Linked DNA regions of Homo sapiens: region 2 is linked to region 1. Evidence: promoter capture Hi-C in 16 types of primary human blood cells and fetal thymus (Javierre and others, 2016). All regions are on one chromosome and are shown on one strand. Each heading gives the region's core, a stretch centred on a gene start or on the middle of the fragment in contact. The rest is flanking DNA. Distances are from core to core; before and after follow the strand shown.

Region 1 (6,359 bases), core at 1,999-4,498:
TATAAGTCTCTATGAATGGGAGTCTTTCCTTGAGGCATCCAGAGGCAATTCTTCTCAGCATACAAACAAAATCAGGATTTGGTCATGCAATACTGAGGAAGAGACCCTGAACTGTAGACGCAACCTTGGGGGAATCCTGTGGGAGAAGCCAGATGGCCTTGGCTCAAAGGACAACCTTGTGCATCACCATTTCATAACCATACCTTTCTAATGTTTAGTTAATGGTGGAAATTACAACTAAGATACTCTGTGGCATATTATGCCCCCAGCACTACCGTTATAGATAAACAAAAGGTTAATTTCCAAAGTGATAAAAGGGCTCCTGCAAATCAACAACAACATCTGAAACAGTTTAAATTTCTCCCTGGGAAAAGAAAGGAAGTGCATTTTACATTTTACTGACCCTATTGTTTTCCTCAGCAAAAGGGTGGGTATTGTGCTCAAAACAGAACAACCAAAAGCTGCCTTACTAAAATTTCAATCTTCATTAGAGAGATAAAAACCTGAAAACCGGTGGACTTATGACATCCTGAAAAGACGTCTATCAATTCCTTCTACCTAAACCCCTCGGAGATGAGCCTTGTCTTCAACATTTCCTCCTTAAGTTAACCAGGCTTGTTCTCTGTTGCTTGCAACCAAACAACCTTAAGTAAGACACAATACCAAAATTACACAATACAAAAAGTAATATAACTTTTCAAGATAACAACCTTCTATAATTTATTTTTTTCACCCTCCACAATTCCATTAGTGTCACCATTTGCTGGTCGTTTTTTGTTTCTGGGTGCTTTGTAAGTTACATATCACATGTGAACTGATTTAAGCCAAAAGTTTTGTTTTGGCAGTGGTTTCACAGTAGTTTTTTGCGGACTCAGAAACTTTTAACAGTAGTGTCTGAGGACTTCTTTAAGCATTTTCCTTTCTCACTTTTGAAAGGTATGTGAGCCTTATAACATGTCCTTAATTAAATATTTCTTGGTAGATGTATAATGGAGAGCAAAGTAGTTTTTTTTTTAATGCTAGTCTCCAGGTAGGAATTGATAGAATCGTGGATCAGAAGAACAAAGAGGTAAGAGAATTGAAAGGGTTTTTATAACCATGGGGTTTTAGGAAGTTTTAGACAGGGAGTGGATTCAAACCAGGAAAGGTCTGGCATACTGGGAGAATGGTAGTGAGAAGTTATACATCGGACTAACTGGAGAATATACCAAAAGGGTGGAGATATTTTATACTACTGAGGAGAGGTAGGAGTAAAGTTTTTGTCCTTGAAGCCTGGCTAAGTGTTGTGAAAGTGAGTTCTTATTGTAAAGCCATGTCTGTGACACCAAGTCATCTGTCTTTATTAAGCTTTACATACTCCTTAGTTTTTTCTAATGTATATATTCAAAACAAACAAAAGCCACTTATACAACTACCTAGCAGCCAAACACTGAATGATGGACTGTTGAATCTGAGAGTTCTGTTAGTAAGCCTTCATAAGTATAATTCACTTGTCTAGGGGAAGTTAATAAAGGGTCATGAAAAAAAAATGAGGTAAAGATTTAGAGAGATAAGATGTGATATTGGTGAGTTTGGACTATAAAAGGGGAAGACCAGAAAGTTGTGACATATTGACTTCTGAATATTCACCAGCAAGGCACTAGGACTCCCTGGCTTGCCTCCTGAAAGGGCCTCCTCCACACAGGAGCCCCTCACTGGGGAGCCCCTCCCTCTGGGGTGTCATATTTCAATGTTCTAAGAGGTTGCCTGGAGTGTCTATATTTAGAGTATGACTCCTCAGCAGGGACAGGTGGATGCATGAGGACTAACTTCTGCATACTTGGTCCCTGAGTTTTGGGATTATTCTGAGGGGCTTGTACTGGTGGCTCAATGAAGTTGTAATAGAAGGCAGGAAATGAAAAGTCCTCTTTTTTTCTGGCAACTGCTTGAGATCCTGTGCATTGCCCTTCCACTTGTGAGGGGAAAAAATGACACAGACATCAGGGGTGTTGCACTGATTCCCAGTCACCCACAGACCCTCACCACCATCTCCACTGGAAAATGCTGAACACTCACCACTGCTAGGGTAGCATAAAATACATGAATGGCAGACAACAGAGAGATCGCCAACAGTGTCATGATGGAAAGAAAATTACCTCTATCAAGTCTCATTTTCATCAATAGGATAACAGGAAATTCTCTAATTTCTGGAAGATTTATAGGTTGCACCACAAACTTCAGAATAGATTGTAAATAAAGCCCTGTGAATGAAAGGCAGGCTAATCTGTGGAGTCACTAATCTGTAAAGTTCATCTGAAGATGTAAGATTCATCTGAAGTTGGGGTCTGCATAAAATCTGTCCTTTGAAGCCAGAGTGAAAGTCACCCAGCAATCTTCTATGAAGATCTCAGTCATCTGACACCTAATACTATGAGTTCAGCCAGGAGAAAGAAAGGGACAATAGTTCACTTACTTAAAATGGTCAAAATTAGAACACTGACCTTCTCGGTATAGATTCATTTATCCATCAATTTATAAATCATGTTGAAAGCACAACTGGTTTTGTTTCTAAGGGTGTGTTTTTACATTTTAATATGTTGTTTGAAAGCTGCTATTTCCTGTGCAGTCCGAAGAAAATATGTTCAACTTGATACAAACTAACTTCATCAAATCAATGAGGCCTCCTATTAACTGGGAAATCTTGCTTATGTTATATATATATATATCTGTAAAAAAAAAAAAAGATTTGAATTATTTCTTCTCCAAGTGGGAAAAGCTTTATTGTTTTTTTCCGATTACAAAATAGTGTAGTTCAAGTCAATAAAAAAGAAAGGACAAAATATAACTTAAATGTTATCAAAATACTAATTAAAATCTCACCACTGCCTGGACTTCCGTTTCTGCCCCCTCACCCAATGTTGGTGTAGAGACTGAACACGGAAAAGTGTAGAAATTTAAGAAAGGGGCTGCAGAAGTTTCAGAGCCAAGGAAAGGATGAGACAATTCCCCAAGAAGTGTAAATGAAGGGTAGACTCAGGAAAAGATGCTGCCCCTTCCTAAAGATGCTGCCCCTTCCTGGAATTAGAGAAACATAAATTCAAACACCAGAAAGACAGGGCCACTTCTGGTTTCTGGTATTGTTACAGAGGAAAAAAGTGACAGGGCCCACTGTGGGGGTTGAGGGGGAGATACAAGGCAGGCTGGCGCCTGCCGCACTGCTTGTGGGAGTGGAAATTGGGGGCCAGAGCGCACTGGTGACGTGGCCGTCACGTGACCAAGAGCCGCCTAGAGCACAAGTCCTGCTAGTCGCCTCCGTCTGGGTACCAGCCCCCTATTACTCTGCAGGCGTGTGAAGAAAGAAGGAAACTAGCTCGGACCGTGCAGGTCGGTGCGAGGGTGGGCGCTGCTTGAGAGGAGGTATGGGTGGAAGAGGGCCAAGAACGCCACAGATCCGAGTTCAGGCCGATCACAGCTGGGTCCCTTTCTCGCCTACTTTCTAAATACTGCTACCCACCCCCACCCCACCCCGTGCTCATTTTAGTAGAGAGAAGTGGCGGGTTTCGGGTGGGGGTGAGGGGAGTGAATGGCGTTTCCAGAGACTCCGAGAAAAGAAAGGTTCTAGTGTCCCGGGTGCTGGTCCGTCCACCAAGCACTCCGTCCCCTCGGTCCCTTGTCTGTTTGCAGGTTTGTAGGTCTGTTGGCCTGTAGGTTTCGGCACAAGTTTCAGCGAGAGAAGGAGAAAACTGCCTTGGTTGGAACCTTGCAGGTCAGTGTGAAGGTGGGATTAGCCCAGGACCATGGGTGGGGGTGGCGGAGGAGGGGGGCTGGGATATGAGAGGGCCAGGTCCGAGTCGCCCTCTCCTGGCCCCTTCTTTCTCCACACCCACTCCCATTTCAGTGCAGGGAAAGGGGTGTGGCGGCCTTTGCTGGGGAAATGGCGGACGACAAGTGGGGCGGAGGAGGCCTGCGTCCGGAAAGTCAGTAGAGTATGAGAAATATTTTAAACTCAAGTGTCTAAAATTCACAAAAACAGAAATTGGGACCTGTGTCCTCAGTTCATCCACTACACTTTCATTTCTCCATTGCCGCCTACCTGTCTTTGCATTTGTCCTTCTGCCAGACTCTATCCTCTATCACCGTGGAGGGACCACTGACAACAGAAGACAAGGGAAAACGAAGGAATTTATCTGACTTTGGTAGAGGTTAATGAGAGAAACTGCCCTTAATCTTTGGGGGTGGAGGTCTGGTGTAGGAGACTACCTGAGAGGTACTCACACTGTCACCCTCCTAGCTATCATAGCAGAGACCCATCTCCTGCCCTTCCCTGTGGACCCAGGAAGAGAAATGGGGGCTCCTGAGGTCGATAGAGGAAGACAGAAAAGAAAAGAACAAAGAAATTGTATCCTGTTAATCTGCCTTTATCACCAACTCGAAATCCACCCTGTCTGTGAGGCACAAAGCCAAACATAGTCCCGAGCCCTAATACTCTGTTTCACCCACAGATTCATCACAAGAGAGCTACAAGAGCCTGGAAGAAGCTGAAGACTGCTACCCTCCATCCTTACTCACCCTGGACCTGAGAGACCTCTTCAATCAGGTGGAGCAAGGCCCTCTCCTGTCCTGCCCCAAGGCTGGCACAGACTTGAGCATGGGCCGGGCTCGGGAAGTGGGTTGGATGGCGGCAGGACTGATGATTGGGGCTGGTGCCTGCTACTGCGTTTACAAACTGACCATAGGAAGAGATGACAGTGAGAAGCTGGAGGAGGAGGGGGAAGAGGAGTGGGACGATGACCAGGAGCTGGATGAGGAGGAGCCTGATATTTGGTTTGATTTTGAAACTATGGCTCGGCCCTGGACTGAGGATGGGGATTGGACTGAACCTGGGGCCCCAGGTGGCACTGAGGACAGGCCCTCAGGGGGAGGCAAGGCCAACCGAGCACACCCAATAAAACAGCGGCCATTCCCCTATGAACATAAAAATACTTGGAGTGCTCAAAATTGTAAAAATGGCAGTTGTGTTCTGGACCTCTCCAAGTGTCTTTTCATTCAGGGAAAACTGTTGTTTGCCGAGCCCAAGGATGCGGGCTTTCCATTTAGCCAGGATATCAATAGCCATTTGGCCAGCCTCTCAATGGCTAGAAACACGAGCCCCACTCCAGACCCCACTGTTAGAGAGGCTTTGTGTGCCCCGGATAACTTAAATGCGAGTATTGAAAGTCAGGGCCAGATTAAGATGTACATCAATGAAGTGTGTCGGGAGACTGTGTCACGTTGCTGCAACTCATTTCTGCAGCAGGCCGGATTAAATTTGTTAATAAGCATGACAGTTATTAATAACATGCTTGCCAAGTCCGCTTCAGACTTGAAGTTTCCTTTGATATCAGAGGGAAGTGGATGTGCTAAGGTTCAGGTTTTGAAACCGCTGATGGGTTTGTCTGAAAAGCCAGTCTTGGCGGGGGAGTTAGTCGGTGCCCAGATGCTCTTCTCATTCATGTCCCTCTTTATCAGAAATGGAAACAGAGAGATTCTCCTGGAAACCCCTGCCCCATAAACGGCCCTCTCGAACACAATGGGACGGAATCCACCCACAACGCGCTTGGTTTGCAGATGTCAAAGAATCTGCAGAGGGTGCTACTGAAGATCCAGCCTTAGCCAATCACCACCTCATTGGGTGAAAGTTCCAGGGCTCAATCCAGGACCACACTCTTATTGGCCAGGCAGGGGCTCCCACAGAGCTTTGAGTAACTTCTTGGTTGTGCAGTCTGCAGGCAATGTTGGCATTGTAAATTCCTCCCTTGCAGCCTCCTTCATGTGGTGAGGGGATCACTTCAGCTGCCTGCTGTGGACAAAGAACATCAAATTACAGCATCACGAGTGCTATTGTTGCCTGTGGTGGTCTCCCTGTCCAAGCGGGACCGCTTTGCAGAGACCAGAGGCATATCGCGGCTTGAGCTGAAAATGCATTTGTTGCAGCTTAGGTTGAATTATTTTTCGTTTGCTCTTTCTTCTACACGCGCCTGATGGATAGTGAACCTATTCATCAAAAAAGTGCACTGCTCTTCTGTCTATTGTACCGACTTAACCTCTTCCACCCAAGTCCGCATCTGTGTGTATCATCAATAAAGTTGTGTGCTTTGATTGGCAGAAAAGAGTCATGGTCCTTGTCCTTGAGTTTACAGTCTGCACGGAGAGAAGGACAAAAAAAAAAGCACGGTAAACGCCAGCTGACTGGAACGTCTGCTCCGTGACAAATGCAGGCTTATCGGTGCTCACAGGAGGCAGGGATAGAGAGGGGCTGCAGTGCTCAGAATAAACTTCAAGAAGGGGCTGGAGGCGGGGGTGGGGGAAGGGGAGGGGCACAGCGGGGGAGTTCGTGGAAT
Region 2 (6,385 bases), core at 1,646-4,145, 1.0 Mb before region 1:
TCCCGTTTGGCCATTTCTCCCGCAGGAGCCTCCCCCACAGCCGTCTCTCGGTACCGAAACCGTCGAGGGCTGCGCGCGGGCGCCTGCAAAGCTGGCTGGGAAGCGGTCAGCGCGGTTCTCCTCCAGACGATCTGACGGTGCCTCTGGAGCCAGCCCCTCAGCCCTTGGTCCGGCCTGGCCCGCACCAGTCACCGCCTCCCCATAGCCAGGGATCTCGGGCACTGCGCACCTCTCTCTAGCGCCCGGCTCCGAACGGATCGTCTCCTCGTTGCCAGGCTGTCAGGGTCCGGGGGGCAGGTTGCCAGCCGGTCCACCCTGGCGGACCACCCCCACACCACGGCCCCCCACCTCACGCACCCCTACTTGCCTTCAGAGGCCCAGAGCCCAGGTCATCGGCCTCCCCCTCCTCTCTTCAGCTCTCCTCTGGCTGCTCTTCAGTTGGATTCCCACCGCTTTCCCAGCGATCCGAATGGCAAAGACGAGTCCCGCCCCCCACGCCTCTGCACCAAACTGGGCAGGGGCTGCGCAGGATGCGGCAAGAACCGCTCTCCGCGAGGGTGTCGGGAAGGGGGGCGGAGGGATACGGCGCGAAAGTGCAGGACGCCCCCCCTCACAGAACCACCATAGTTCCGACCCAGAGGTGGGCGGGGCCAGGACGAGCCCCAGCCGGGGCCTGCGGGTTGGCACCAGGCTGCCTCAGGAGGACCCCGCGGACCCTAACGTGGCGACGACCACCACATTTCTGGCGCTGCTATAATATATGGCACCGGCGGGCGGCTGCGGGGCCGGGCGGAGGACAGGATCGCGAGGTCGCGAAGAGCCGCGCTGGAGGGAGCAGCGGATGGATACCAAACCGTCCCTTGGTGTGTCTGCACCCCCGCCCCAACCGCCCCCCTATAAGGACTGCTGGGTGTTTGCCCTCTCCCCCTCCCTAGTCTGCTCACCCTCCTTCCTGGATGTTAATGGGAGAGGGGGTGTCAGCACTGCAGTGTGGGAGGGGAGAGGCGATTTCAGTCCAGACAGGCCCGGGGTTCTAGGGTGGTCGTCCTGTGCGTTTCTTTCCCAGCTTCGTGGAGCCACGCAGGGGAGGAAGGTACACCTGCTCTTAAGTGAACTCCGGGGCAGGGGGCTCCCATCAAGGACTCACCACTGCCCCTCTTCTAAAAGAAGGTAGACCTAGACCTCTAACCCTAGGAAACCAACCACTGGTCTGCACCAGACTCATTTCTTTCTGCCACACCGCTGTTTCTCATTTCAAATGGTGGCTCACGTTGGCATTGCACCGTCCCCACAGTTGCCCCCAAAAGAGGACCTTTCCCTGTCAGGACCCGCAGGAGGTCATAACAGTCCTCTCTCTTTGATGCCGCCAGGTAGGGATGGTCCTGGCTTCTCTTCGGTTCCCTGTCAAGTCTTCTCTTGCCATGATATTTGGCAGTGTGGAAATGTGGCTGGTATCAAACCAGCTTGGATCTCCGCCACCTGCCACAACTACCTATTGTTTCAGCAGTCATTCTCAGGAGAGGATCCCACCGTGCACCCCCCTCCCCGAGACAAAGCAACCTGGCTCATTTGAATCCTCTTCTTTCACCCCCACATCCGTCCTCTACTCTTGAGCCCCTCCTTTCCCTGCTTCCTGCATGGGACAGACAGAGCAATGTGGTTAAACACCAAGTTGATGTTGTTACTGTTGTCCATTTGAAAACTCATTTAGACACTACCCTCATTGTGTTTGGCAGGTAACGGTCCCCTAAAGATGTCCATGTCCTGTTCTCCAGAACATGTACCATTTTATATTACCTGACAAAGGATCATTAAGATTGCTATTCAGCTGAGTTTAATTTAAGATTATTCTGGGTTATCTTGGCCAATGTAATTGCAAGGGTACTTTAGATGTGGAAGGCAGGGACTCCATGTCAGATTGAAGCAGCATAGAAAGTCTACACTGGTCATCGTTGGCTTTGAAGATGGAAGGAAGCCAAGATCCAAGAAATACAGGCTGTCTCCAGAACCTGGAAAAGACAAAGAAACAGATTCTTCCCTAGAAATGCCAGAGGGATAGCTCCTCTGGCAACATCTTGATTTTAGTGTGGTGAAGCCCTTTGAAGATTTCCAACCTTCCAGGACTGTAAGATAATAATAAATTGGTATTATTTTAAGCCATTCCATGTATGGTAACTGGTTACAGGGTAGCAGCACCAGACCTATCTGGTTTAACTTTTATATAACAAAGTTGTGCATTGTCTTTCAGTTGCCGGGGACCCTCAGATCATGTTACCTGAGCATCCTCAGATGAACCAAGCATGCAATCAGAGGGAGAATGTAAGTGTTTTGAATTAGGACCAGGGCTGAATTAAGAAGTGGACACTGGATGGCAGGATCCAGTCAGATCATGCCTCTCAGCATCACCTCATTGTAAGATCCAAAGCCATCAGGATATACCCTTAATACCCAATGCTTATGAAAACCTGACCCAGCCCCCATCTCAGGGAGACATTATTTTGGGAAGTATCCCTGGTGGTCTCATTACTTCGTTACAAGTAATAAATCCCCTTACTAAATCCTTGCTGTGATCATGGGGTTGATGTCAAACGACTGAACCCACCCACTGTGTTGGTTGGTAACAATAGCAGGAGTAGGAACAGAATACACTCACCATCCTGATGAATTCTATTCCCATTGCCTTTCTTTACCTGTGCTTCAGTCTCTGAGAAATATTTTAGGGCTCATCTCACCAATACAGCCACCAATCCCCTTTACTGTTTTATAATTATGTCCAAAATCACATTTGCACAAGCTTCTGTGGTAATTCTGCAGGTGCTAGGATCTTTATTCCAAGATATTTACTGACAGAGGAATGGTTCTACCAAAAGCTGACAAATTTTACTGTGTGAGACTTTAAAATGTGTGTTGGACAATTTGTTGTCAGTACTCTTAGAAAACATGGTCTTGTATTGGTTAGTATGTATTGAAGTGATAAAGGCCCTACTTTAAGCTTTTCATATGTTAGCTTTGTATGGGTATGTATCAAATAGATTATTATTTTTAAAACCTTTGAGCAAATAAAAGATTGAAATAAGATACTCTGACTGCTAAGCACTATTTATTTCCTCCTATAATTGATTCTAGTTCAATAAATTGCAACAGTCATCTTTCTACTCCTCAGTGCCTACACTAGCACCTGTGTAACCCTGACTTACCACTGAAATCTAAATGTCAGAGCCAAATAATCCATAAGCATTAAGTCCATGATACAGATGCAACTGTGCTCACTCATCATACTCACTGTTTTCTTCCAAATCCCACCCACCACCCCCAAGCATGCTCATGAACTTGCACACCAGCCTATCACTTGCCTGTTCTCCTCTTGTCTGTCTCAATCACCATGGTCATGGACTTGTTTTTGCCTATTTAGTTTTACTTGCCTCTATACTGTCCTTTATGGGCCTCAAGCAAAGCTTCCTTCTGAGACTTCTCTTTTGGTCGAGGCTGAGCCAAACCCTGTGTTTTCTTATAATGTATCCCCTTCTTCTATCTCAAAGTTTCAAAGGTTGTACACAGAAATTAAAGTCCCCTGTAGTCAGGAATAACTAGGCTGAGGTTGGTCTGGTGAACTATATGGTGAAATTGGCCCAACAGATGTCTATTTTCAGTGTAGCCTGAAAATGCTATGGGAAAGATCTCAGCCTGTCTCTACTTCTTGAGACAGGGTACATTTGCAGAACTGGTGGGGAGGCCTGGCCCAAGAATATTTTCAGGTCATATTTGGGGTGGGGTCTACTTCAAGAGAATTAATCTTGAAGAAAAACCAAGTCACGCACAAGGACCCTAGCCCATGAACAATGCCTTGCCATTAGGGAAGTATAGATATTCTAATAGCAACACTGAAATTATTATAGAACTCCTATTTGTGCCTATTCCAACACAAACCCTCAACTGTATATCTGTCATAGCAAAGGCAGGTTTATACATATCCAGGAAATAACTGTCTTTAAGTAAACTCTGTAATGCTCCAGTGTAAGGAACCCATTAATAAAGCATAACCTAAAGAGAGGAAAATATCCTCCTTTCTAACATGGATTTAAACTTTTGACTACTACTCAGATCTGACATCATGAAAACCCTGTGTATAGGTGGAGTTAGGAAATTAGAGAGAACAGTTAATTAGAGGACATTAAATGCCTGGCAATACAGCTTAGAATGGCAGCAACAACTGGAAGAATCACAGGAAAACCCCAAAAATTCAGGACATAGGAAATACCCCTTGAGGATTTTTAGAACTATAGGAGCTGGCAAGGAGAGCTAATTAGCTTTACAGGGAGAAGAAAACCTGAATTTCCACAATGTCAATAAATATTAGAAATTAATGGAATGTCAAATTGCTTTCTATAATAGAAAAAATAATGAGAAAACTACACTACCTTTTGTTGTTGTTTCTCATTAACTAACCATCACTTCCTGCCTCATCATGATAGGGCCTCACCACAGCCTGCATCCAGCCAGCAAATGAGAAAAAGGAGAATAGAAGTAGTTGATTTCCTTCTTAAAATCCATGGTGAGGAAATGCTCACATCATTTCCACTCACATTCCATTGATGGGACTTGATATGGTTTGACTGTGTCCCCACCCAAGTCTCAACTCGAATTGTAACTCCCAGAATTCCCACATGTTGTGAGAGGGACCCAGGGGGAGGTAATTGAATCATGGGGGCCAGTCTTTCCAGTGCTATTCTCATGATAGTGAATAAGTCTCACAAAATCTGATGGGTTTATCAGGGGGTTCTATTTTTGCTTCTTCCTCATTTTTATATTGTCACTGCCATGTAAGAAGTGCCTTTTACCTCCTGCCATGATTCTGAGGCCTCCCCAGCCATGTGGAACTGTAAGTCCAATTAAACCTCTTTTTCTTCCCAGTCTCGGGTATGTCTTTATCAGCAGCGTGAAAACAAACTAATACAGTAAATTGGTACCGGTAGAGTGGGGTGTTGCTCAAAAGACACCCCAAAATATGGAAGCGACTTTGAAACTGGGTAACAGGCAGAGGTTGGAACAGGGCTCAGAAGAAGACAGGAAAATGTGGGAAAGTTTGGAACTTCCTAGACACTTGTTGAATGGCTTTGCCCAAAATGTTGATAGTGATATGGAAAATAAAATTCAGGCTGAGGTGGTCTCAGATGGAGATGAGGGACTTGTTGGGAACTGGAGCAAAGGTGACGCTTGTTATGTTTTGGCAAAGAGACTGGCAGCATTTTGCCCCTGCCCTAGAGATTTGTAGAACTTTGAACTTCAGAGAGATGATTTAAGGTATCTGGCAGAAGAAATTTCTAAGCAGCAAAGCATTCAAGAGGTAACTTGGATGCTGTTAAAGGCATTCAGTTTTATAAGAGAAGCAGAGCATAAAAGTTTGGAAAATTTGCAGGCTGACTATGCGATAAGAAAGAAAAACCCATTTTATGGGAAGAAATTCAAGCCAGCTGCAGAAATTTGCATAAGTAGCAAGCAGCCTAATGTTAATCCCCAAGACCATGGGAAAAATGTCTCCAGGCCATGTCGGAGAACTTCCCAGTAGTCCCTCCCATCACAGGCCTGGAGGCCCAGGAGGAAAAGTGTTCTTGTGGGCTGGGCACAAGGCCCCCATGCTGTGTGCAGCCTGGGCACTTGGTGCCCTGTGTCCCAGCTGCTCCAGCTGTGGCTGAAAGGGGCCAACATACAGCTTGGGCTGTGGCTTCAGAGGGTGGAAGCCGCAAGCCTTGGCAGCTTCCACGTGGTGTTGAGCATGCAGGTGTACAGAAGTCAAGAACTGAGGTTTGGGAACCTCTGCCTATATTTCAGAAGATGTAAGAAACGCTTGGATGCCCAGGTAAAAGTTTGCTGCAGGGGTGGGGCCCTCATGGAGAACCTCTGCTAGGGCAGTGCAGAAGGGAAATGTGGGGTCAGAACCCTCACACAGAGTCCCTACTGAGGCACCACCTAGTGGAGCTGTGAGAAGAGGGCCACCATCCTCCAGACCCCAGAATGATAGATCCACTGACGGCTTGCACTGTGTGCGTGGAAAAGCCACAGATAATGCCAACCCATGTAAGCAGCCAGGAGGGAGGCTGTACCCTGCAAAGCCACAGGGCAGAGCTGCCCAAGACTGTGGGAACCCACTTTTTGCATCTGCATGACCTGGATGTGAGACCTAGAGTTGAAGGAGATCATTTTGGAGCTTTAAAATTTGACTGCCCCACTGGATTTCAGACTTGCATGGGCCCTGTAACCCCTTTGTTTTGGCCAATTTCTCCCATTTGGAATGGTTGTATTTACCCAATACCTACACCCCCGTTTTATCCAGGAAGTAACTAGATTGATTTTGATTTTACAAGCTCATAGGCAGAAGGGACTTGCC

Evidence for each region. The method cuts DNA at HindIII sites, captures the fragments that hold promoters and counts their contacts. A CHiCAGO score of 5 or more calls a contact.
Region 2: a fragment that was not itself captured here is called in contact with the fragment with the promoter of ARMCX6 in region 1 in 1 of 17 cell types (total CD8 T cells); the score reaches 5.7 in total CD8 T cells.

The regions. Positions count from the first base shown.
Region 1 is chrX:101,614,889-101,621,247 of GRCh38, reverse strand. It overlaps ARMCX6 (armadillo repeat containing X-linked 6), which reads left to right and starts at 3,248. Exons shown (of 3, transcript NM_019007.4): 1 at 3,248-3,363; 2 at 3,664-3,745; 3 at 4,482-6,123. The coding sequence starts at 4,628. The coding sequence ends at 5,530. The HindIII fragment of the contact is 4,525 bases long and covers 2,758-6,359 here.
Region 2 is chrX:102,645,578-102,651,962 of GRCh38, reverse strand. The region is part of intron 4 of ARMCX5-GPRASP2 (ARMCX5-GPRASP2 readthrough); the gene reads right to left. It overlaps GPRASP1 (G protein-coupled receptor associated sorting protein 1), which reads right to left and starts at 480. Exons shown (of 6, transcript NM_001184727.2): 1 at 368-480; 2 at 230-276. The HindIII fragment of the contact is 198 bases long and covers 2,797-2,994 here.